Linked DNA regions of Homo sapiens: all the other regions are linked to region 4. The links are contacts of gene promoters, found by promoter capture Hi-C in human tissues and cell types (Jung and others, 2019). All regions are on one chromosome and are shown on one strand. Each heading gives the region's core, a stretch centred on a gene start or on the middle of the fragment in contact. The rest is flanking DNA. Distances are from core to core; before and after follow the strand shown. Region 1 has its middle 25 kb from the start of S100B. Region 2 overlaps S100B (S100 calcium binding protein B). Region 3 has its middle 11 kb from the start of S100B. Region 4 holds the start of C21orf58 (chromosome 21 open reading frame 58).

Evidence for each region. Contacts are between HindIII fragments. The study calls those that stand out against the background at their distance.
Region 1: a contact is called between a fragment that was not itself captured here and the fragment with the promoter of C21orf58 in region 4, in 3 of the 25 tissues and cell types used here (dorsolateral prefrontal cortex, mesenchymal stem cells and mesendoderm cells).
Region 2: a contact is called between a fragment that was not itself captured here and the fragment with the promoter of C21orf58 in region 4, in 9 of the 25 tissues and cell types used here (IMR-90 fibroblasts, aorta, dorsolateral prefrontal cortex and 6 more).
Region 3: a contact is called between a fragment that was not itself captured here and the fragment with the promoter of C21orf58 in region 4, in 5 of the 25 tissues and cell types used here (H1 embryonic stem cells, dorsolateral prefrontal cortex, hippocampus and 2 more).

What each region holds. Positions count from the first base shown.
Region 1 is chr21:46,576,846-46,583,117 of GRCh38, reverse strand. It overlaps a transcript of DIP2A not described here. Among named protein-coding and RNA genes, the nearest start is that of S100B, 25 kb to the left of the region's middle. The HindIII fragment of the contact is 8,435 bases long and covers 1-6,272 here.
Region 2 is chr21:46,595,398-46,601,802 of GRCh38, reverse strand. It overlaps S100B (S100 calcium binding protein B), which reads left to right. Exons shown (of 3, transcript NM_006272.3): 3 at 2,300-3,199. The coding sequence ends at 2,440. Among named protein-coding and RNA genes, the nearest start is that of S100B, 6.5 kb to the left of the region's middle. The HindIII fragment of the contact is 6,650 bases long and covers 439-6,405 here.
Region 3 is chr21:46,612,595-46,619,579 of GRCh38, reverse strand. No RefSeq gene overlaps it. Among named protein-coding and RNA genes, the nearest start is that of S100B, 11 kb to the right of the region's middle. The HindIII fragment of the contact is 3,662 bases long and covers 1-3,081 here.
Region 4 is chr21:46,318,702-46,325,274 of GRCh38, reverse strand. C21orf58 (chromosome 21 open reading frame 58) reads left to right here and starts at 1,405. Exons shown (of 8, transcript NM_058180.5): 1 at 1,405-2,636. The coding sequence starts at 2,537. PCNT (pericentrin) reads right to left here and starts at 1,119. Exons shown (of 47, transcript NM_006031.6): 1 at 993-1,119. The coding sequence starts at 1,046. RefSeq lists silencers at 327-786, 1,057-1,386, 3,868-4,130 and enhancers at 1,737-1,876, 5,736-6,570, 6,571-6,573. The HindIII fragment of the contact is 24,092 bases long and covers 1-4,222 here.

The DNA.
Region 1 (6,272 bases), core at 967-3,466, 260 kb before region 4:
GAGATTAGTATAGCCACTCCAGCTTTCTTGTGGCTGCTGTTTGAATGATGTACCTTTTCTCATCCTTTTACTGTCAGTCTATTTGTATCTTTGAATAAAAGGTGTATCTCCTGTGGACAGCATATAGTTGGGTCTTATTTTTTGTTTTTGTTTGTTTGCTTGTTTTTACACAGGTTTTCTGACAATCTCTGCCTTTTTAATAAACTGTTTAATTCATTCATGTTAAGGAAAAATGCATTTATAGTCTTACCATTATATAATTATCTTTACCTTTACTGGTTCTCTTTGCTTTTTCTGTGGATCCAAGTTACCATTTGGCATATTCACTTGGTTGTTAAAAAAATTACCAGCAAAGTGGAAAGATGGCCTACTAGAAGCAGCTGCCATTGGTGGCTCCCACTGAGAAGAATGAAAATGGTGAGTGAATCCTGCACCTTCAGCTGAGGTACCCAGGTTCTCTCATTGAGACTGACTAGGTGGTTGGCACAACCCATGGAGAGTCGGGAAAAGCAGGGTGGAGCGATGGACCACTCAGGAGCACCATGGGGCAAGAGGAGCTCCCATCCCCAGCCAAGGGAGGCAGTGACTGATTGTGCTACCTGCCTGGAAAACCATGTTTTTTCCACAGATCTGTGCAACTCACAGATCAGGAAATCCCCTCATGAGCCCAAACCACCAGAGCCTTGGGTCCCAAGTACAGAGCTGTCCAGATGCTCAGGTTGCAGCTAGTGGCAGCTGGCTAGAGACTGCCTAAGACAACTGAGTACCTAGGGGGAGGGGCGGCCACCATCACTGCAGCTCCAGTCTGCCGTTTTCCTCTGCTGGTGCGGGGAAGACTGGGTAGTTTGAACCAGGAGGAATTTCCCACAGCACAGCACAGTGGCTGTGGCAGATCATGGCTAGACTGCTGCTTTAGGTGGGACCCAGATCCATTCCCCGTCAATGGGCAGGGCCTCCCTGTGGGAATTTCAGCAACTCCAGCCAGAGGTTTACAAACAGAACTCTGATCTCCCTGGAATGGAGTCCTTAGGGGGATGGGCAGCTGTGATCTCCACAACTCAGTAGACATAATCTTTCCTGCCTGCTGGTTCTGAAGAGGCTGGGCAGTTTGGACAAAGAGGAGTCCCTCCAGTGCAGTGCACCCACTCCACCAAGGGGCAGCCAGACTGCTTCTTTAAGCAGGCCTCGGATCCCAAGCCTCCTGACTGGGTGAGATCCCCCAACATGGGTTGTCAGGAATCTTATACGGGAGCGTTCCCACCAGCATCAGGTTGGTGTCCCTCTGAGATTGAGCTCCCAGAGGAAGGATCAGGCAGCCATCTTTGGTGTTCTACAGCCTCCACTGGTGACACTTCCAGGTGCAGGAGGGATCCAGGTGAATAGGGTCTGGAGTAGACCCCCAGCAAACTGCAGCAACCCTACAGAAGAGGGGCCTAGCTGTTAAAAGAAAGAAAGCAACAACAACATCAACAAAAAAAGACCCCACAAAACCCCATCCAAAGGTCAGCAGCCTCAAAGATCAAAGGTAGACAAGCTCACAAAGATGAGAAAAAAATCAATGCAAAAACGCTGAAAACTCAAAAAGCCAGAGTGCCTCTTCTCCTTCGAATGACTGAAACACCTCTCCAGCAAGGGCACAGAACTGGACAGAGGCTGAGATGGATGAACTGACAGAAGTAGGCTTCAGAATGTGGGTAATAACGAACTCCATTGAGCTAAAGGAGTTATGTTCTAACCCAGTGCAAAGGAGCTAAGAACCATGATAAAACATTACAAGAGCTGTTAACCAGAATAACCAGTTTACAGAGGAACATAAATGATCTGATGGAGCTGAAAAACACAACTTGAGAACTTCACAATGCAACCACAAATATCAATAGCCAAATAGACCAAGTGGAACAAAGAATCTCAGAGCTTGAAGACTATCTTGCTTAAATAAGACAGGCAGACAAGATTAAAGAAAAAAGAATGAAAAGGAATGAACAAAACTTCTGAGATCTATGAGATTATGTAAAAAGACTGAACCTACAACTGATTGGGGTACCTGGAAGAGATGGGGAGAATGGCACCAAGTTGGAAAGCATACTTCAGGATATCATCCAGGAGAACTTACCCAAACCAGCAAGACAGGCCAACATTCAAATTCAGGAAATCCAGAGAACCCCAGTAAAATACTCCATGAGAAGATCAGCCCCAAGACACATAATCATCAGATTCCTCAAGGTCAAAATGAAGGAAAAAATGTTAAGGGCAGCCAGAGAGAAAGGCCAGGACACCTACAAAGGGAAGTCCATCAGACTAACAACAGAATTCTCAGTGGAAACCCTACAAACCAGAAGAGATTGGAGGCCATATTCAACATTCTTAAAGAAAAGAATTTCCAACCCAGAATTTTATATATGGTCAAATTAAGATTCATAAATGAAGGAGAAATAAAATCCTTTTCAGACAAGCAAATGCTGAGGAATTCATCACTACCAGGCCTGCCTTGCAGGAGCTCCTGAAGATAGCATGAAATATGGAAAGGAAAAACTATTACCAGCCTGTACAAAAAGACACTGAAGTACACAGACCAGTGACACTGTGAAGCAACTACATTAATAAGTCTGCAAAATAACCAGCTAGCATTATGATGACAGGATCAAATTCACACATAACCATACTAACTTTAAATGTAAATGAACTAAATGTCCCAATTAAAAGACACAGAATGGCAAGCTGGATAAACAGTTAAGACCCATCAGTGTGCTGTATTCAAGAAACCCCTCTCACATGCAAAGACACATGAGGCTCAAAATAAAGAAGTGGAGGAAAATTTACCAAGCAAATGGAAAACAGAAAAAAACAAGGGTTGCAATACTAGTTTCTGACAAAACAAATCTTCAACCAACAAAGATTAAAAAAAAGAAGGGCATTACACAATGGTAAAAGGTTCAATTCAACAAGAAGAGCTAACTGTCCTAAATATATACGCAGCCAATACAGGAGCACCCAGATTTATAAAACAAGTTTTTAGAGACCTACAAAGAGACTTAGACTCTCACACAATAATAGCGGGAGACTTTAACACCCCACTGTCAATATTAGTTAGATCATCAAGAGAGAAAATTAACAAAGATATTCAGAACTTGAACTCAGCTCTGGATTAAGTAGACCTGATAGATATCTACAGAACTTTCCACTCAAAAGCAACAGAATATACATTCTTCTTGGCACCACATGGCACTTACTCTAAAACTGATCACATAATTGGAAGTAAAACCCTCCTCAGCAAATTCAAAAGAACTGAAATTATAACAGTCTTTCAGACCACAGCAGAATCAAAATGGAACTCAAGATTAAGAAGCTCACTCAAAACCACACAACTACATGGAAACTGAACAACCTCCTCCTGAATGACTCCTGGGTAAACAATAAAATTAAGGCACAAATCAAGAACTTATTTGAAACTAATGAGAACAAAGAGACAATATACCAGAATCTCTGGGATGCAGCTAAAGCAGCATTAAGAGGAAAATTTATAGCACTAAATGCCCACTTCAAAAAGCTAGGAGGATCTCCAATTGACATCCTAACATCACAACTAAAAGAACTAGAGAACCAAGAGCAAACAAACCCCAAAGCTAGCAGAAGACAAGAAATAACCAAGATCAGAGCAGAACTGAAGGAAACAGAGACGTGAAAAACCCTTCAAAAAAAATCAACGAATCCAGGAGCTGGCTTTTTGAAAAAAATTAATAAAATAGATAGACTGCTAGCTAGACAAAGAAAAGTGAAAAGAATCAAATGGACACAATGAAAATGATAAAGAGAATATCACCACTGACCCTACGGAAATACAAACAACCATCAGAGAATACTATAAACATCTCTATGCACATGAACTAGAAAATGTAGAAGAAACTGATAAATTCCTGAATACAAAGACCCTCCTAAGACTGAACCACAAAGAAGTTGAATCTCTGAATAAACCAATAATAAGTCCTGAAATTGAGGCAGTAAGAAATAGCCTACCAACCAAAAAAAACCCAGGACCAGAAGGATTTACAGCTGAATTCTACCAGAGGTACAAAGAGGAGCTGGTTCCATTTCTTCTGAAACTATTCCAAACAATAGAAAAGGAGGGAATCCTCCCTAACTCATTTTATGAGACGAGCATCATCCCGATACCAAAACCTGGCAGAGATAAAACAAAAAAACAAAACTTCAGACCAATATGACTGATGAACATTCATGCAAAAATTCTCAATAAAATACTGGCAAACCAAATCCAGCAGCACATCAAAAAGCTTATCCTACCATGATCAAGGTGGCCTCATCCCTGGGATGCAAGGCTGGTTCAACATATGCAAATCAATAAACATAATTCATCACATAAATGGAACAAAAGATGAAAACCACATGATTATATCAATAGACACAGAAAAGGCCTTCAATAAAATTCAACATCCCTTCACATTAATACTTTCAATAAACTGGATATTGAAGGAATATGCCTCAAAATAATAACAGCCACTTATGACAGATCCACAGCCAATTTCATACCGAATGAGCAAAAGCTGGAAGCATTCCCCTTGAAAACTGGCACAAGACAAGGATGCCCCCTCTCACCACTCCTATTCAACATAACATTGGAAGTTCTAGCAAGGGAATCAGGCAAGAGAAAGAAATAATGGATATTCAAATAGGAAGAGAGGAAGTCAAACTGCCTCTGTTCACAGATGACATGATCCTATATCCAGAAAACCCCATTGTCTCAGCCCAAAAGGTTTTTTTTGTTGTCGTTGTTTTTGTTTGTTTGTTTTTTGAGACGGAGTCTTGCTCTGTTGCCAGGCTGGAGTGCAGTGGCACAATCTTGGCTCACTGCAACCACCGCCTCCCAGGTTCAAGCAATTCTCCTGCCTCAGCCTCCTGAGTAGCTGGGACTACAGGCACACACCACCACGCCTGGCTAATTTTTGTATTTTTACTAGAGACAGGATTTCACCATGTTGGCCAGGATGGTCTTGATCTCTTGACCTCGTGATCCACCCACCTCGGCCTCCTAAAGTGCTGGGATTACAGGTGTGAGCCACCACGCCCAGCCTCCAAAAGCTTCTTAAACTGATAAGCAACTTCAGCAAAGTCTCAGGATACAAAATCAATGTGCAAAAGTGACAAGCATTTCTATACACCAACAGACAAGGCAGAGTGCCAAATCTTAAGTGAACTTCCATTTACAATTGCTACAAAGAGAATAAAATACCTAGGAATACAGTTAACAAGGGAAGTGAAGGACCTCTTCGAGGAGAACTACAAACCACTGCTCAAGGAAATCAGAGAAGACACAAACAAATGGAAAAACATTCCATGCTCATGGATAGGAAGAATCAATATCGTGAAAATGGCCATACTCCCCAAAGTAATGTATAGATTCAATGCTATTACCATTAGACTACCATTGACATTCTTCACATAATTAGAAAAAAAGCTATTTTAAAATTGATATGATACCAAAAAAAAGCCCATATAGCCAAGACAATCCTAAGCAAAAAGAACGAAGTTGGAGGCATCATGCTATTGGACTTCAAGCTATACAGCAAGGCTACAGTAACTAAAACAGCATGGTACTGGTACAAAAACAGACACATAGACCGGTGGAACAGGATAGGGAACCCAGAAGTAAGACTGCCCATCTACAACCATCTGATCTTTGACAAACATGACAAAAACAAGCAATGGGGAAAGGATTCCCTATTTAATAAATGGTGCTGGGAGAACTGGCTATCCATATGCAGAAAATTAAAACTGGACCCCTTCCTTACACCTTATACAAAAATTAACTCAAGATGGATTAAAGACTTAAATGTAGAACCCCAAACTATAAAAACCCTAGAAGAAAATCTAGGCAATACCATTCAGGACATAGGCACGGACAGAGATTTCATGATGAAAACATCAAAAGCAATTGCAACAAAAGCAAAAGGAAATTGACAAATAGGATCTAATTAAACTGAAGAGCCTCTGCACAGCAAAAGAAACTATCATCAGAGCAAACAGACCACCTACAGAATGGGAGAAAATTTTTGCAATCTATTCATCTGACAAAGGCCCAATATCTAGAATCTACAAGGAACTTAAAACAAATATACAAGAAAAAACCAACCTCATTAAAAAGTGGGCAAAGGACATGAACAGACACCTGTCAAAAGAAGACATTCATGCGGCCAACAAATATATGAAAAAAAGCTCAATATCGCTGATCATTAGAGAAATGCAAGTCAAAACCACAA
Region 2 (6,405 bases), core at 2,514-5,013, 270 kb before region 4:
TCTGCTCTGGGGCACCCAGCCTGGCACATGGATGAATGACCATGACTGGCTTAACTGAGGACGTGACAGGGGTCTGTACACATCCTTTGGAAGCCCTGGGGCTTTGCAGGAGGCTCTGTGGAGTAACGGATATTGGTGAGGAACTGTCTTTAGTTGGGGCCCCTACTTTAGGAAGCTGTGTGGGGGCTCCTGGCAAGCCCTGTTCTTCAGGCAGTTCCCGCTGTGGCTTGTGGTGGAAGTATGTCCAGACCCTTGCATTAGGGCTCATTTTCCTACCCACCGTCTCCACTGTCCTTGGATCAGACCCACCTGTCTTTACTGCCCACCTCATGCCCTCATGGAAGTGAACTGTGATCCCCCTGGTACCTGATGCTCTCTTAGAACCAAGGCTGGCTTGAGGCACGCCTTGAGCCAGAGTGAAGCACCAGTGGTGTGCACATATGAAACGTAGTGAAGGGCTTCCTGGGTCACTGATATGAGCAATCACAAACGGGATAAATGACCAGACAATGAGCCAGCGCACTAGTGTCTCACCAAGCCCTATTCCAGGATAAATACCAGGGCAGGGCTCTGCTGCATGGGGACGGGGAGCTGCCCTCCTGAGCTGGCCAAGCCTCTCAGTGCAAGACGGCAAGCCCTGGCTCCAGCAGCACGGCAGTCCGTGTTTTCAGGGCAGGGGGAGGGGGCGCTGGCTGGTTCTCCTGTCCCCACTCCCACCAAACACTGCCCCACCGTGAATGGTTCAGAGTGGAGCAGACAGGCCTGAAACTTTGCAGAGGGTGTCCCCACATCTGATTCCAGGACTGGTTTTCTCAGGCATTCAAGCCGACAGAGTGACAGCAGTCCCACTCACACATGCAGTTTTCTAGTTCCACCAATCTTGCCTTCTGACTTGATCTGAGAGTCCCAGGTTCTTCTTCTGAACAAGGGCTGTTGTGAGGGTGAAGCGGGACAGTGCTTAAGTGCTTAACATATAGTGAAAGCTCAACTAATAGTAGCTACTATTATTATTTTTATACATAGAAAAAGCTTTGCACTTGGGAATTTCAATTTGTAAATGATAAATAATTCATGGTAAGCATTTCAAGGCATCACAAACATTTGCTGCCCTGTTTTATCAAGGTAATTTCAGTTCGGAAGCAGATGTATAATATAATTGAAGTTAGTGCCCTGCTCCTGCCCATCCACAGGTGCCTCCCCACCTCTACCCCCGTGGAGTTACAATCTTCTGTATGTTTTGTTTACTTTTTTAGTTTTTGAGATAAGGTCTTGCTCAGTCACCCAGGTTGGAGTGCAGTGGTGCAATCTTGGCTCATTGCAGCCTCAACCTCCCAGGCTCAAGCGATCCTCCGCCTCAGCCTCCTGAGTAGCTGGGAATACGGGCACATGGACCATGCCCAGCTAATTGTTTTATTTTTTCTTTGTAGAGATGGAGTCTCCCTATGTTGCCCAGGCTGGTCTCAAACTTCCTGTGCTCAAGTTATCCTCCTGCCTTAGCTTCCCAAAGTGCTGGGATTACAGGTGTGAGCCACCGTGCCTGACCCCTGTGTGTCTTATAGCCAAGGCAGCTGTTGTACATTACACTTGACTTCTTCAGGCCAAGCCTTCCTATCCCGGAGAATTGTTACTCTGCATTTATGCTCTTCATCAGTGTTCAATACCCAAATTTTTCCCACCACGTTTGTAGCCCTGCACTGTGGTTGTTCCTCTGAGGCTGTGCACATCACTTAACAGCCACACCATTCATTTGGCTTCAATGTCAGGCAGAACTGTCAGGAAAAAGTTTCATGACACCTAGAAAGCAATTCAAGTGGGAAAAAGAATACAGGGTTAACAAATGTAGGCCACGTTCCCAAGAGTTACTTCAGCAACAAAGAAGACTTTCAAAACATTAAATTCCACTGGAAGCCTTTGAGACAGGGACTTCCACACACAGAACACACGAAAAGTTTAGGAGGGCCAAAAGTTTATTTTTATTTCAAGACATTTGCTCAGGCTGATCTAGATGGTATTTTTTTTTTTCAGGTATTTTAAGTATGATAACAACCTTCAGTTTTTCACCTCTTGGCTGTTCCATTCAGCCTTTTCCAGTAGCTCAGGGCCAGACACTGACCCCCAGAGATTTCTGCTTGGACAACAGCCCCCTGGTCACATGAGACATCTTTTCTGATATTTTGCATTTGATGTTCTTAGGTTATTTCGGACACAAATTATCAGAGTCACTCAACTTTTAATCATGTTTTGATGGTCCAAAATTCCATTTAAAAACAAGGTCGGCAACTCCTTTTATCTCTCTTAGGAAATCAAAGAGCAGGAGGTTGTGGACAAAGTCATGGAAACACTGGACAATGATGGAGACGGCGAATGTGACTTCCAGGAATTCATGGCCTTTGTTGCCATGGTTACTACTGCCTGCCACGAGTTCTTTGAACATGAGTGAGATTAGAAAGCAGCCAAACCTTTCCTGTAACAGAGACGGTCATGCAAGAAAGCAGACAGCAAGGGCTTGCAGCCTAGTAGGAGCTGAGCTTTCCAGCCGTGTTGTAGCTAATTAGGAAGCTTGATTTGCTTTGTGATTGAAAAATTGAAAACCTCTTTCCAAAGGCTGTTTTAACGGCCTGCATCATTCTTTCTGCTATATTAGGCCTGTGTGTAAGCTGACTGGCCCCAGGGACTCTTGTTAACAGTAACTTAGGAGTCAGGTCTCAGTGATAAAGCGTGCACCGTGCAGCCCGCCATGGCCGTGTAGACCCTAACCCGGAGGGAACCCTGACTACAGAAATTACCCCGGGGCACCCTTAAAACTTCCACTACCTTTAAAAAACAAAGCCTTATCCAGCATTATTTGAAAACACTGCTGTTCTTTAAATGCGTTCCTCATCCATGCAGATAACAGCTGGTTGGCCGGTGTGGCCCTGCAAGGGCGTGGTGGCTTCGGCCTGCTTCCCGGGATGCGCCTGATCACCAGGTGAACGCTCAGCGCTGGCAGCGCTCCTGGAAAAAGCAACTCCATCAGAACTCGCAATCCGAGCCAGCTCTGGGGGCTCCAGCGTGGCCTCCGTGACCCATGCGATTCAAGTCGCGGCTGCAGGATCCTTGCCTCCAACGTGCCTCCAGCACATGCGGCTTCCGAGGGCACTACCGGGGGCTCTGAGCCACCGCGAGGGCCTGCGTTCAATAAAAAGAGCGCAGCTTGGGAGGCCGAGGCAGGTGGATCACAAGGTCAGGAGTTGGAGACCAGCCTGACCAACATGGTGAAACCCCGTCTCTACCAAAAATACAAAAAGTAGCCTGGCGTGGTGGCGCGTGCCTATATTCCCAGCTACTTGGGAGGCTGAGGCAGGAGAATCGCTTGAACCCGGGAGGTGGAGGTTGCAGTGAGCCGAAATCGCGCCACTGCACTCCAGCCTGGGCGACAGAGCAAGACTCCTTCTCAAAAAAAAAAAAAGCGCAGCAACAGCGATCCAGCGCCATCAAAAGGCAACGCAAGCAAAAAACGCGGCTTCCCTTCTGCCCCCGCTAGGGGGAGGCTTCCCCGGGGGCGTCCAGCCACTCCACAGGGGACTTCCGGCCTGTTGGGTCACATGTTCTTCCCTAAGCCAATCACCAGGAAGGGGAGCTGCCAATGGTCCCGGGCAGTCACGTGCCTTTCCACAATGCATGCTGGGCCACCAGCCCCATTCCCGGTGTTCACTGCGCTCCCCGTGGTCCTTGGCCTCCATCTCAGAAAGCTCACGTTCCTCAGGGTCCCTCTGTGCCTTCTGAACAGTAGCGGGTAAAACAGGAAGTCCTGCCTGTCCCAGGCAGTGTGGGAGGCCCGGAGGCTCGCAGGGCCCGAGGCTGGGTGGGGCAGAGGTAGGAACCACAGCTGTGATGGCCGAGAGATGGGTTGGTGAGAGGGGCCTGGGAGAGGCCGGAGGGGACCCAGCGAGGCCACTTCACATCTAGCCACCTGGGGAGTCCCCAGGGCCCTGTGCTCACTTCTCGCTCAGCTCTCGCCTTCTGGAAATTCGTGGTTACTTTTGGCCAAAGGGCGATGTTTTCATTTCGCACCGGGCCCTGCAAAGCTGGTCCTGGTGCATGCTCTGGGCTGGCGGGCAGGAGACCAAGCTTGGGAGGCCCAGGGTGCGACCTTAAGTTGGGGGGCGGGAGGGGCGCTGCTGCCGGGGGGCAGCTCTGGGCTGCCCTTGGCTCGGGTGCCCGCCTCCCACCTGCATTCCTCCCCAGAGGATGCTCTGCCGCCTCGGCCGGAAGTTGAATCGGCCCTTCCAGAGCCTCTTTTGCCCACACTGATCCAAGAATCCTAAAGTGACTAAGTCCCCAGAAGCCTACTCTGCTTCCAAACCAGATAGGGAGAACATTGGTCCTCCAAGGAGCTTGGCTCCAGCACCATCCCTCAGGGATTCCCAGGGCAGCTTCTGAGCACACGGGGGCTCCTCCACCATCCAAAGGGGGTCTGGGGGGACTTATCCAATCAACTGCCGTTAGTTCCAGGCTGTAAATGCCAACCGTCCTCTCCTGGCAATCCCTAGCTGAGTGTGGCCCGCCCTCACCCAGAGGCACCTTCCAGTTCCATGAGTGGGTGGTGGTAGTCGCCACAGCTTGGTGGCCAGCACAGGCCTGGCCTACCCCAAAGGCTGCCTCCAGCATCCCCAGGTGGACAGGGGATGGGCCCGGGCAAGGGGGTGGGGGAAACCCGCCCCCAGCTTTGACCAGGAACACATGGAGTTCGCTCAGGCCTGGAGAGCAGGACCAGGTGTGAAAAGTCTGTTTTCATGAACCTGTTGCCCAGGCTGCCATTTCCATGGCCAGTTCAGCCACAGAAATTTTCTGTGCTCCATCAATTTCTCCGTTTGATCCACAAGATTCTGGGCCACAGCCACTTCGCAAATCTGGCCCTGCCAGCAGTGTTGGTCTCTCAGGGTGGAGACCCTGGGGCCAAGCTGAGGACCCCATTTGTTGACTTGCAGTGAGAAGGTGCTGTTGAGAAGTTGGGCTGCAGGAACCCACCATCTCTGGACGCTGCGGACCATCCTCTACAGGGGCTGCTGTCCCTGCCAGAAGTACAAGCAACACAATTGCCAGACTTTCCTGCCACCAAAAGGAGGAATCATCATCTAATAATTGGATTGCGGGGGGTAAGGCCTTGGGCCCCCAGGCAGTATCTGGACATACCCCACCTGTACCCACCAGCAGGGACAGAGACAGCAGGAAGGCTATTGGGCTCTCAAGCCCTGGACTATGTGCCCTCCTGACCCCATGCCCCTGCCTGGGGAAAGGGAGCAGTGAGGACGGAAGTGGAGAGTTGGTGATCCTGGGCTCCCCTGGCCCTCTGTCAAGCTCTGGCTCTCTCTTGTCTACTGTTCCAGATCCCCACCTCTGCAGGGCCCCAGGCCTGTTCAGCCAGACCCTGCTCCTCTTGCAACCAACAAGGGAATCAAATTTCCCCCAGGCTGGCTGGGGCCCTACTTGGGTATCTCCACTATGGGCAGTTTGTCTCCACAGCATGACACCCTGTGAGCCCATGGGCCCATTACTGTTCCCTGCAGCTCTGCCCTGTGAGGCCCCATCCTGGTCTCCAAGGCAAAATGGGGGCCCTTGAACCCACATGCCCCCAGCCAAGACCCTGGAGAGAGTTTGGAAACTTCGTAGGAAGTTGTGGGAGACACCTTGGTTTGTTTGCTTTTGTTTTGGGGTTCTTAAATTTAGGGATTCCACCCTTATCTTGTGCAGACACAAATCAGATTTTTGTAATTGCAGATAGATGGAAGTGTTTGGGCATCAGAGGAAGGTTCCACTGGCCCTTCATCCAGTGGGACCTTCTACACACAGCTATTACGTTCTGCTCGCAATGGAGACACCCAAGTAGGTTCCACTAGCCCTGTCCCACAAGAGCCCAGCTATTGCCTGGCAGTATTTCTTTACCAAGAACTGGGCTGCCTTGGGGACCAGGTGGGTGAGCACAAGGGATGCCTGGCCTCTCTGTCCTGAGACCCCCCTTAATTATGACCCTTACAGCCATGTCCACCAGCAACCTGGCAGGCAAGACAATGGCACAACCTCCTTTCACTGCATTTAGGGAGAAAAGGGCTGGCCTCTCTCTGAAGGAGTGCAGAAAATACACATTATTCAAGCAAGTTAGCATGAGGCAAGCCTAGAGCTTTTACACAGGGCTGGATGTTGAGCAGAGAGCTGAGGATGAGGTTGGCATTCTTCTCAGGAAAATAGCCCAAAGCCCCCAGGATCTAAACCTTGCAGGAAGGAGGCCAGACTTGGCTGGGCTAGAAGGAGCTTTTCTTATGTCTTCTTACCCCAGCACCCCTAATTTAAAATACAGATCCCTGAGGTGCGTCTCAGGTGTTCAGGAGGCCACTCCTGAACTTTTCCTCTTCTGTGAGGGGGTGG
Region 3 (6,985 bases), core at 1-2,500, 290 kb before region 4:
GAAAGAGAGAAAGGAACAGAAGCAATATGTGAAGCAATAATGACTGAGAATTTCCCCAAGATTAATGTGAGACACCAAATCACAGCTCCAGGAAGCTCAGAGAACACAAATAGGATAAATGCCCTTCCCCCAAAACTAGGCATATCACATTCAAGCTTCACAAAATCATAGTTAAAGGAAAAATCTCAAAAGAAACCAGAGAAAATAAACACGTTACCATAGAGAAGCAAGATAAAAATTACATCTAACTTCTCCTGAAAAACTATGCAAGCGAGAAGAAGATGGAATGAAATAGAGTCATATATCACTTAATGATGGGGATACATACTGAGAAATGTTTCATTAGGCAATTTTGTCCTTACGCAAACATCATACAGTGCAGTTACACAAACCTAGCTGGTACAGCCTGCTATATACCTAGGCTGTATGATACAGCCTGTTGCTTCTAGGTTACAAACTTGTCCAATATGTTACTACTGGATACCGTAGGCAATGAAACACAATAGTAAGTATTTTTATGTCTAAACATAGAAACAGTACAGTAAAAATATGATATAAAAGATTTTTAATGATATACCCATATAAGGCATTTACGATGAACAGAGTTTGCAGAACTGGAAGTTGTTCTGGGTGAGTTAGTGCTTGAGTGGTGAGTGAGTGTGAATGCCCAGGACATTACTGTACTCTACTGCAGACTTATAAGCATTTCTGTACTCTACTGTAGGCTTGCAAGCATTACTGTACTCTACTGCAGACTTATAAGCACCACTGTACTCTACTGTAGGCTTATAAGCACTGTACACTTAAGCTGTGCTAAATTTATTTATTTATTTATTTTAGAGACAAGGTCTCGCTGCATTGCCCAGGCTGTTCTTGAACTCCAGGCTGTTCTGAACTCAAGCAATCTTCCTGCCTCGGCCTCCCAAGGTGCTAGGATTAGAAGCTTAAGCCTCTGCAGCCAGTCATACATTAAATTTATTTTAAAATATTTAAAATATCCTTGCCGGGCATGGTGGTTTAAGTCTGTAATCTCAGCACTTTGGGAGGCCGAGGTGGGTGGATCACTTGAGGTCAGGAGTTCGAGACCAGACTGGCCAACATGGTCAAACCCCGTCTCTACTAAAAATACAAAAATTAGCCAGGTTTGGTTGCGCATGCTTGTAATCCCAGCTGCTTGGGAGGCTGAGGCAGGAGAATCGCTTGAATTTGGGAGGTGGAGGTTGTAGTGAGCCAAGATTGCACCACTGCACTCCAGCCTGGGCAACTGAGCAAGACTCTGTCACAAAAACAAAAACAAAACAAAATTATTCTTTCTTCAATAATAAATTAAACTTAGCTTACCATAACTTATTTACTTTATAAACTTTTTTTCTCATTGACTCATTTGTAATAACACTTAGCTTAAAATACAAACACATCGTATAGCTATACAAAAATATTTTCTTTCTTTATATCTTTAATCTATAAGCTTGTTTCCATTTTTAACAATTTTTAAATTTTTTACTTTTTAAACTCTTTTTTTAACTGAAACACAAACACATTAGCCTAAGCCTACACAGGTCAGAACCATCAATATCACTGTCTTCCACCTCTACATCACATCTTTTCCCCCTGGAAGGTCTTCAAGGACAATGAGACATATGGAGCTGTCATTCTCTATGATAACGGCACCTTGTTCTAGAATATGTCCCAAAGGACCTGCTCGAGGCTATTTTACTGGTAACTAACTGTTAACTAACTTTACATAGATAGATAGATAGATGATAGATAGATAGATAGATAGATAGATAGATAGATAGATAGATAGAAAGAGTACCATCTAAAATAATAAAATGTATTGTATAGTAAATACATAAACCAGTAAGATGGTCATTTATGATCATTGTCAAGTATTACGTATCGTACATAATTTGATGTACTATACTTTTATGTGACTGGTAGCACAGTAGGTTTGTTTATACCACTATAACCACAGACACATGAGTAATGCATTGCACTACAATGTTTTGATGGCTACAACATCACTAGGCAATAGAAATTTTTCAGTTCCATTATAATCTATGAGGCTACCATCGCATATGCAATCTGCCATTGACCAAAATGTTGTTACATGACACATGGTTATATTTAAAGTGTTGTAAAAATAAACCCTCTGATATGGTTTGGCTGTGTTCCCACCCATATCTCATCTTGTATTGTAATCCCCATGTGTCATGGGAAGGACCTGGTGGGAAGTAATTAAATCATAGGGGGCAGTTACCTCCACGCTGCTGTTCTCAAGATAGTGAGTGAGTTCTCATGAGATCTGAAGGTTTTATAAGGGGCTTTTTCCTCTTTTGTTCGGCACTTCTCCTTGCTGCCTCCATGTGAAGAAGGATGTGTTTGCTTCCCCTTCTGCCATGGTTGTAAGTTTCCTGAGGCCTCCCCAGCCATGCTAAACTGTGAGTCAATTAAACCTCTTTCCTTTATAAATTACCCAGTCTCAGGTATGTCTTTATTAGCAGTGTAAGAACAGACTAATACACCCACCAACCTAGAATTCTGCGGTCTGCAAAACTGTCCTTCAAAAGTAAAGGAGAAATAGACTTTCTAAGACAAACAAACATTGTTGCTAATAAATCTGAAGAAATGTTAAAAGAAGTTCTCCAGAGAAAGGAAAAATGATATTTTAGAAACTCAGGTCTAAGCTAACATCATGATGACAGGATCAAATCCACACATATTAATACTAACCTTGAATGTAAATGGGCTAAATCCCCACTTAAAGGACTCAGAGTGGCAAGCTCAATAAAGAACCAAGACCCAATAGTATGCTGTCATCAAGAAACCCATCTCACATGCAGTGACACCCACTGGCTCAAAATAAAGGGATGGGTAAAAATCTACCAAGCAAATGGAAAACTGAAAAAAGTAGGAGTTGCAATCCTAATTTCAGGCAAAAAAGATTTTAAACCAACAAAACTCAAAAAAGACAAAGAAGGGCATACAAAATGCTAAAGGGTTCAGTTCAACAGGAAGACCTAACTATCCTAAATATATATATATATATATATATATACACACACACACACACACATATCTATACCAAGCACAGGAGCACCCAGATTCATAAAGCAAGTTCTTAGAGCACTTCAAAGAGACTTAACACTCCCACACAATAATAGTGGGAGACTTCAACACCCTGCTGACAGTACTAGACAGATCATTGAGGCAGAAAATTACCAAAGATATTCAGGACCTAAACTCAGCACTGGAGTAAATGGACCTGATAGACATCTACAGAACTCTCCACCCTAAAGCAACAGAATAGACATTCTTGTCATCACCACATGCACATACTCTAAAATCAACCACATAATAAGACATAAAACACTCCTCAGCAAGTGCAAAAGAACTAAAATCATAACAACCACTCTCTTGGACCACAGCACAAGAAAATTGCTCAAGGCCAGGTGGGGTGGCTTACGCCTATAATCTCAACACTTTGGGAAGCTGAGGCGGATGGATCACTTTAGGTCAAAAGTTTAAGACCAGCCTGTCCAACATGGTGAAACCCTGTCTCTACTAAAAATACAAAAATGAGCCAGGTATGGTGGCACATGCCTGTAATCCCAGCTACTCAGGAGGCTGAGGTGGGAAGATTGCTTGAACCCAGGAGGTGGAGGTTGCAGTGAGCCGAGATTGCCTCTCTGCACTCCAGCCTGGGTGATGGACTAAAACTCCATCTCAAAAAAAGAAAAAGAAAGAAAGAAAATTGCTCAAAACCATGCAATTATATGAAAATTGAATAACCTGCTCCTGAATGACCTTTGGGTAAATAAAGAAATTAAGGCAGAAATCAAGAAGTTCTTTGAAACTAATAAAAACAAAGGTACAACATACTAGACTCTCTTGGACACAGCTAAGGCAGTGTTAAGAGGGAAATTTTTAGCAATAAATGTCCACATCAAAAAGTTAGAATGCTTGCAATCAAACAACCTAACACCGCAACTAAAAGAACTAGAGAACCAAGAGCAAATCAACCCCAAAACTAGCAGAAGACAAGATATAACCAAAATCAGAGCTGAACTGAAGGAGACTGAGACACAAAAAACCATCCAAAAGATCAACAAATCCAGGGGTTGGTTTTTTAAAAAAATTAATAAAATAGACCACTAGCTAGACTAATAAAGAAGAAGAGAGAGAAGATCCAAATAAACACAATCAGAAATGACAAAGGGGATATTACCACTAACCCTACAGAAGTACAAATAACCATCAGAGAATATTATGAACACCTCTATGCAAACTAGAAAATACGGAAGAAATGGATACATTCCTGGATATATACACCCTCCCAAGACTGAACCAGAAATAAATTGATTCCCTGAACAGATCAATAACAAGCTCTGAAATTGAATCAGGAATAAATAGGCTACCAACCAAAAAAAGTCCAGGACCAGATGGATTCACAGCTGTATTCTACCAGAAGTATAAAGAAGAGCTAGTACCATTCCTGCTGAACCTATTCCAAAAAATTGAGAAGGGGGGACTCCTCCCTAACTCATTCTATGAGGCCAGTATCATCATAATACCAAAATCTGGCAGAGACACAACAAGAAAAAAAAAACTTTAGGCCAAAATCCTTGATGAACATTGATGCAAAAATCCTCAACAAAATACTAGCAAACTGAATCCAGCAGCACATCAAAAAGCTTATCCACCATGATCAAGGAGGCTTTATCCCTGGGATGCAAGGTTAGATCAACACAGGCAAATCAATAAATGTGATTTATCAAACAAACAGAACTAAAGACAAAAACCACATGATCATCTCAATAGATGCTGAAATGCCTTTTGATAAAATTCAACACCATTTCATGTTAAAAACTCTCAATAAACTAGATATTGAAGGAACATACCTCAAAATAATACAAGCCATCTATGACAAACCCACAGCCAACATCATACTAAATGGGCAAAAGCTGGAAGCACTCCCCTCGAAAACTGGCACAAGACAAGGATGCCCTTTCTCACCACTCCTATTCAAAATAGTATTGGAAGTCCTGGCCACAGCAATCAGGCAAAAGAAAGAAATAAAGGGCATCTAAATAGAAAGAGAGGAAGTCAGACTAACCCTGTTTGTGAACGACAATCAACATACAGAAATATTTACATGTAAAATCCAAAACTATAAAAACCCTGGAAGACAACCTAGGTAATACCATTAAGGACATAGGAATGGGCAAATATTTCGTGATAAAGACACCAAAAGCAATTGCAACAAAAGCAAAAACTGACAAATGTGATCTATTTAATTAAACGAAAGAGCTTCTACACAGCACACACACACACACACAAAAACTATCAACAAAGTAAACAGAATGGGAGAAAATTTTCGCAAACCACGCCTCTGACAAAGATTTGATATCCAGCATCTATAAGGAACTTAAACAAATCTACACACACACACAAACCCAATCCCATTAAAAAGTGGGTAAAGGACATGAACAGACCCTTTTCAAAAGAAGACATACATGTGGCCAAAAAGCATGTGAAAAACAACTCAACATCACTGATGACTGTCAGAGAAATGCAAATCAAAACCACAGTGAGATACCACCTCCCAGCAGTCAGAATGGCTACTATTAAAAGGTCAAAAAATAGCCAGGCACGGTGGCTCACACCTGTAATCCCAGCACTTTGGGAGGCCGAGGTGGGCGGATCACCTGAGTTAGGAGATCAAGACCAGCCTGGTCAACATGGTGAAACCCCATCTCTATTAAACAAATACAAAAATTAGCCGGGCGTGGTGGCATGTGCCTGTAATCCCAGCTACTCAGGAGGCTGAGGCAGGAGAATTGCTTGAACCCAAGAGGTGGAGGTTGCAGTGAGCAAAAATTGAGTCACTGCACTCCAGCCTGGGCTGCACCAAAATTGAGTCACTGCACTCCAGCCAGAACGAGACTCCGTCTCAAAAAACAAAACAAAACAAAAGTAAAAAAATAACAGGTGCTGCCAAGGTTACGGAGAAAAAGGAATGCTTGTACACCGTTGGCGGGAATGTAAATTAGTTCAACCATTGTGGAAAACAGTGTGGTGATTCCTTAAAGACATAAAAACAGAATTACCACTCAACCCAGCAATCCTGTTACTGGGTCTATACCCAAACGAATATAAATCATTCTATCATAATGACACATGCATGTGGATGTTCATTACAGCACTATTCACGGTAGCAAAGGCATGGAGTCAACCTAAATGCCCGTCAGTGGTAGACTCGGTAAAGAAAATGTGGTACATATACACCACGAAATATTATGCAAGCATAAAAAAGAACAAGAACATGTCCTTTGCAGGAATATAGGCAAAAACTATCGTAAGCAAACTAATGCAGGAACAGAAAACCAAATACCACATATTCTCACTTATAAGTGGGAGCTAAATGATGAGAACACATGGACACATAGAGGGGAAAAACAGACACTGGGGCTTACTGGAGGGTGGAAGGTGAGAGGAGGGAGAGAATCAGGAAAATAATGAATGGGTACTAGGCTTAATACCTGGATGACAAAATAATCTGTACAACAAACCTCCATGACACAAGTTTACTTATATAATAAACCCACACATATACCCCTGAACTTAAACATTTTTAAAAAAGAAACTCAGGTCTATATGAAGAAAGGAAGAGCACCAGAGAATGAATAGTGATGGTAAATCTCATTTTTGTTATTATAAGGTTCTTGCACTATCCAAGAAGTGATAATAGTGTAATTTGAAAGTGTACTTGGATTAGCTGTAAACATACATTAAAAACTCTAAGGCAACGCTTAAAAATATTTTTTAAGAAGTATTAATTGATATGCTAAGAAAGAAGAAAAACTGAATCATATAAAATGCTCACTTAAAACCACAAAAGGCAGAAAAAGTGTGGAAGACAAAAACAAGACCAAGGGCATCAAATAGAAAACAGTGAAAAATATGGTAGATATTAATTCAACTA
Region 4 (6,573 bases), core at 156-2,655:
GCCCGGGAGCCCCGCTCTTCCCCAGCACCCCAGCCAGAACATCCTGGGGGGGAGCGGCGCGCACCTCGCAGAGGCCGGCCTGCTCCCGCGGTTCCGCCTCGCGCTTTCGGGACTCCCTTTCTCCTGCCCCCGAGTCATGGGCTCTGCGCGCTTTATTCCCACGAAACCTAGGACAGTGGCCATCAAACCGAGCGCTTTTTCACGGAGAAACCCGGGGCGGGAGAAAGACGGGAGCGCGTCCCTTGAAGGCGCCCGGCGCCAGCGCCGCGTGGGTTCCCGGCAGCGTACGCCAGGCCCGGACGGGCAGGACGCGAGCCCAAGGGCGCGGGAAGAAGACGGCGGCCGGGAGCGCCGCGGGGGCCTTTCACACAGTAAGGACTGCAACGCCGCGAGAAACGCGCGGGGAAAGCATCTCCGACGGACGAGGCGAAGGCGCACCCTGGGGAGGCGCTGCAGGCCACCCGCGCCACGCCCCCGGCCCCGGCCGCGCAGGAAACTGGCCCTAGACCAAGCAGCCACCCGAATACCGGCCGCCCGCCCCAGGCCACCCGGTCCCGGAGGACGCGGGAGCCACTGGAAGATCCAGCCTGGGGTCCAGCGCCTGCCGCGCCCCACCCCCTCCGTGCAGCCACGCCACGCCCCTGTAGCCCCGCCCTGCAGCCACACCCCGCCCCGGCGTGCACCGCGCCCAGCCCGCGCCCCACCCCCCCCGACGCAGGCGCAGCCCCGCCCCGGCCCGCCCGAGAGGCGCCGCGCGTCCCGGCCGCTGATTGGCTGTGGCCGCGGCGGGGGCGGGACCTGGCGGAGAGCGGCGGATTCAAGATGGCGGCGGCCAGGAGGCGGCTTCCAGCGGAGCCGGCGGGAAAAAGCGAGACCTCCGCGGCGGCTTCCGCCGGACCGCGTCCTCTCCTGGCAGGGGGCGGTGGCGGGCACCGGAGCCGCCCTTAGGACTTCACGCCAGAGCAGCTAGAGAAGAAGCCCCTAATGTTTACCTTCGTCCTCCCGGCCTCCACCTTTCTGCGCCGCTGCTCTTGCTCAACTTCCATCTCCCTCAGACTCCGCGCGGGCCGCCCGGCGGTGACGGGGCTGACACAGAGCAGCCTTCGCTCTATTTACACTCCCTCCCCCGCGCTTGGGCTCGCCCTCCCCCCGCGACAACTGTCACGCAGCCGCGGCCCCGCCCCCGACACGCGCCGCCAATCAGGGGGCTGCGTTTCCGGTCTCGCGCACGCGCGCTCTGGGCGGTGCAGCCTGGGCGGAGCCCCGCCCTTTACGCTCGCCGGCCACAGATTGGTGCGCTCACGTACCCGCCTCCTACGGCAGGACCAGTAAGCGGAAAGCGGAGGCCTGGCGCCCGCTGTGATTGGCCGATTTTAAAATCCCCTGCCAGGCTGGCCGAGCGGCAAAAAGTTCGCGCTGCTGGTCCCGCGCGGGCGGCCCCTGGGCTTTGTGTCCACCAGGACAGCGGGCCGGGCTCCCTGCAGGCGCGGGCGGCGCCGAACGGTGCTCAGCAACCACCCGGACAGGGCCAGGCCGTTTTCTCCCGCTCAGGCATTAGTCGTTGGCTGTGGGCCGCCGCGGGAAGTTGAGGCCTACCACGGAGGAGGCTGCTGAGGTGGATCTCAGGGGATCCGCAAGGGCTCCCTCACCCTTGCCGGGACCCTGGGAACCCGAAACAAAATCCTACGCCACCAGCCCGCCGAATGCGCCCCCTCGGCCGGGGGTCCTGGGTCTTCAGAGAAGAACTCGGCCGAATGCGGTCAGAAAGCCCGCGAACCGCCTGGACCTGCAGGCCCCGCCGCTTGGAGCTCCCGCCTTTCCCGACCGAGCCCGTGTCTGCTCGTGTGTCTCACTGATGTCTTAGGTCTCAAAAAAAAAAGAAAAGAAAAGGTTTTTAGTAGACAGAAGAGAAATGGGGCCGTGGGTTCGTGGTCCCAGGGGGAAACTGACGTCGCATGAGGTCGTCGTCCCTCAGCTTGAGCTCAGCGGAACATAAGCTTGCAGAGGTGGAAACCACGGAAGGTTTGGGTGTCTTGGAGCTCTCTGGACACCGAAGCCCGGACACAGTCCCGGGGTCCGCACCGCCTGTGACCTGTGGCGGGACCGCCGGGGTGGGCGTTTTCTCAGCTGGCGCGCGCGTAGGTGGAACTTGGGAAACTAACTGGAGCGAAGTGGCAAAAAACCAAGACAGGGCCGGTGACCTCGCGCAGGCCGTCCTTAACTGTGGAGTATTCCTTCAGCTAACCCCTTTATTTCATGTGTCCAAGTCTGGTTTCTGGGTTTCTTTGTAGTCCTCCGGGCCTGTTCGTGCGCCTTCACTTGCAAAAGGTTCGTCGTGGAGGGCCGTGTGCTTGTTTGCAGCAGTAACGATGCCCTTCCCGAGCGTGCTGGAGTGGCTCCTCGCTGACGCAAGCTCACCTTGCAGCCTCCTCAGCAACTGCAACTTAAACGCGCCCTCAGGAAGCCCTGGAATCTCGCTCAGAATTTTTTTTCTTTTTTTGAGACAGTCTCGCTGCGACGCCCAGGCTATAGCGCAATGGCGCGATCTCGGCTCCCTGCAACCTCCCTCAGGAAGCCGTGGAAGCTCGACCGCCAGAAACTTCCTTCTCCTGACTCAGGCCACAGTCTTCTGTGTGGTGAGCGGGGTGTCCAGCGGTCTCCTGGTTCCCAGACTCGGAATTGGGTGGTTTGAGCAAACTCTGGGCAGTGGGCTCATTAGAGCAGGGGCCAGGCAGGCAACACAGCCAAGCGAGCAGGGGCTGCACCCACAGGATCACACTTTCCAGGAACAGAGACCCAGACCGCGCCTGAATCTCACAACTGTTACGTGTTACAATACATTTACAACTGTGGGACTGAGGGGATGTGCCCAGGTTTGCCTAGACTGTGTTCCTCAGAACCCCAGAGTCGTTTCTGTGGACATCCTAGAGAGGTTCTGCTAATGTTGGACTTGGGTCTTATTTCAGTTCTTTTTTCTTTTCTTTTTTATAGGCAGGGTCTCAGTCTGTCACACAGGCTAGAGTGCAGTGGTGAGACCACCGCTCATTGCAGCCTCAACTTCCCCGGGCTCAGGTGATTCTCCATGTCAGCCTCCTGAGCAGCTGGAATTACAGGCACACCACCATGCCCAGCTAATTTTTGTATTTTTAGTAGACACAGGGTCTCACTGTGTTGCCCAGGCTGGTCTTGAACTCCTGGGCTCAAGTGATCCACCTGCCTTGGCCTCTCAAAGTGCTGGAGTTACAGGCATGAGCAACCTCGCCCAGCCTCAATTCATTTTAAACTATTAAAAAGCTGTCAAGGCCAGGCAACCACTGCACTCCAACCTGGGTGACAGACTGAGACCCTAACTCAAAAAAAAAAAAAAAAAAAAGCTGCCCAGATAAATTTTGTAGATACTCACCCTCAAGGAGGGAAACGTAACTCCCCTCTCCTTAAGTGTAGACCACACATAGCCACTTCCTCCCAAAGAGTGCAATAAAGAAAAGGAGGGAAAGAGCCACTTTATTGTGGAGAAAACTGGCAGACTCCACCTCAGCCAAGTGACGCAGGTCAGCCTCACAGTTATAGTCGAGGTGACAGTGTGTGTCCCTGATGTGATGGGGTGACAGTGGCACTTCACCCCTAGATGCTTCCTTTCTGTAACCTGCAGTCCCAGTCTAACCAGGAGATAATAGACACATTTTAATTGAGGGACATTCTTCAAAATATCTGCCCAGTACTCTTCGAAACTGTCAAGGTCATCAAAAACGAGGAAAGTCTGAGAAGGAGCCTAAAGACACATAACTCAATGTAATGGGGTGTTCTGATGGATACCACATTAGGGACATGAGGCAAACCTAAGGAAACTGTCAAAGTGTGGACTTCAGTTACTTGTGTCTCAATATTGGTTCATTAATCATAACAAATGGGCCAGGTGCACTGGCTTTCACTCAAAAATTAGCTGGGCATGATGGCACGTACCTGTAGTCCCAGCTACTCGAGAGGCTGAGGCAGAAGAATCGCTTGAAACTGGGAAGCAGAGGTTGCAGTGAGCCAAGATTGCACCATTGCACTCTAGCCTGGGCGTCGCAGCGAGACTCTGTCTCAAAAAAAATATATATATATATAACATATGTAGCACACTAAGGTAAGATGTTAATAAGAGGGGAAGCCACACATGTGGTATGTGGGATCTCCATGTACTATCTTCTCAATTACTCTAAATCTAAAACTGTTCTTAAAAACCCTATTTAAAAAAAAAGTCTGACAAATCCATGCCCTCTGGAGCATGTTATGTATACTACTAGAGATCCCGAGGAGGCAATTCTTAGTGCTTCCCATTCACTTGGCAGTCACAGCTGTGGGCACACAGGCTCAAGTCTCTCCTTAAGTCAGTCAGTATTACAAACCATACATAATAGTATACTTGACCACTGCATAAATGTTATAAACATTCCACATCAAGAGAAAGAGGAGAGGAAAAAAAGTTAACCAGTTCAACGAAAAGGAGAATCTGGCAAGGAAGCATCTCTGATGTGGGCAGAGCCTGCAGCAGCAGATGTGGAGGGCTTCTCACAAGTGACAGCAAGACTGTCTGTAAAACGGCCACTTTGACCTGGTGGTGTTCTGCTCTTTTCATGGCCATAGAGTACTCTGGTAAGGACTGATAGTAAGAGTGTCTTGTTTATGTCTTTATCTGGGTGGGTGCAGTATCTACTGATGAGGAAACATCTGGTCCCTGTTGGCCTGATACCCTTTTTTTTTTTTTTTTTTTTTTTTTGAGGTGGAGTTACACTCTTGTTGCCCAGGATGGAGTGCAGTAGTGGTGCCACCTTGGCTCACTGCAACTTCCGCCTGCCTGGCCCTATCTTATAATTTAAAAGGCATCAGGGGCCAGGTGCTATGGCTCACACCTCTAATCCTAGCACTTTGGGAGGCCAAGACGGCAGATCACTTGAGGTCAGGAGTTCGAGACCAGTCTGGCCAACATGGTGAAACCCCATCTCTACCAAAAATACAAAGATTAACTGGGCGTGGTGGCGTGCACCTGTACTCCCAGCTACTCGGGAGGCTGAGGCAGGAGAATCACTTGAACCCGGGAGGCGGAGGTTGCAGTGAGCTGAGATGGCTCCACCTCTGCACTCCAGCCTGGGCAACGAGCAAAACTCCATCTCAAAAAAAAATACATAAGATGGAGTCCTTTTCTCAGATGAGGTCACTTATATCAAGGGTGCTCTATACAGTTGCTTAACTAAATTAACCTGGTTTTTGTTCTGTGCACACTCAGAGCTGTTTAAATGTCTCCCAAGACTGTCACTGTTAATGACTGTGGACAAGAGCCAGGTTCTTTTATTATCTTGTTTATTTATTTTTTTATTTTTTTTATTTTTTTTCCAGACGGAGGTTTTGCTCTTGTTGCCCAGGCTGGAGTGCTGTGGCGCAATCTTGGGTCACTGCAAACTCTGCCTTCCGATTTCAAGCAATTCTCCTGCCTCAGCCTCCCGAGTAGCTGGGATTACAGGCGCCTACCACGACGCCTGGCTAATTTTTTGTATTTTTAGTAGAGACGGGGTTTCACCATGTTGGCCAGGTTGTCTCGACCTCCTGACCTCGTGATCTGCCTGCCTCAGCCTCCCTAAGTGCTGGGATTACAGGCATGAGCCACCGCACCTGGCCCTTTTTTATTATTTTTTATAGAGATGGGGTCTTGTTGTGTTGTGCCGGCTGGTCTCCAACTCGTGGACTCAAGTGATCCTTCTGCCTTGGCCTCCCAAAGCACTGAGATTACAGGCGTGAGCCAACGCCCAATGGCACTGGGATCTTAAACATGGGGCCAGAGTCTGCTCATGTCCAGCAGCACCAGCGAGGACCCCTGACTGCCATCTGGGAATGTGTGGCACCAGGCAGGTCATGTGACCCTAGCCCACACCCTCCACAGATCTGGAGGGAGGGTAAGGCCTGGTTTCATGCTGACTTCATTTCTGGTTGGATGGCCTCCAGGGTAAGGTGAGTTGAACTCTACGTCAGGAGTAATCCAGCCCCTCCAGGGCCAGCAGGAGTAAGGTGCGCCCCTCCAAGGATCTCCATGAGCTGCCTCTGTGAGCCTGACCTCCTACGGGCTAGCCAGCCTTCACCCAATCACTCACTGGTCCAGCTTCAGGGTCCCTACATGGATGTGGGTTGGAAGACAGGACAGGCACACAACCATAGATACTGATGGACATGGGCCATTTACAGAACTGAGGGCAAGAGAGCAATTTTGGCCACTGAGGCAAGTTCCTGGGTTAGCTGCACCGAGGAGGGTGCTGACCTCTGCCCCTCGGGTCCACAGGTCTGGGCCCCTGCTGCTGACATCCCCCACATGTCAGTCTGCCTGCTAGTGGGATTGACTAACTCATCAACGTGGAGTTTAATGCCCAACCAAGTGCAGACCACGCTCCTGTTTTGCGTCACCCTCTGCGAAGCTTCCTGCAAACTTGACTCCCTGCCCAGTGCCCCCAGCCCCAAGGTGGGACATATCCCCTGGGCACCCCCTCTGGTCCTGCTAAAGCCCAGCCCCTCTGCAGGTCACAACCCCTCCTCTGTCCTACC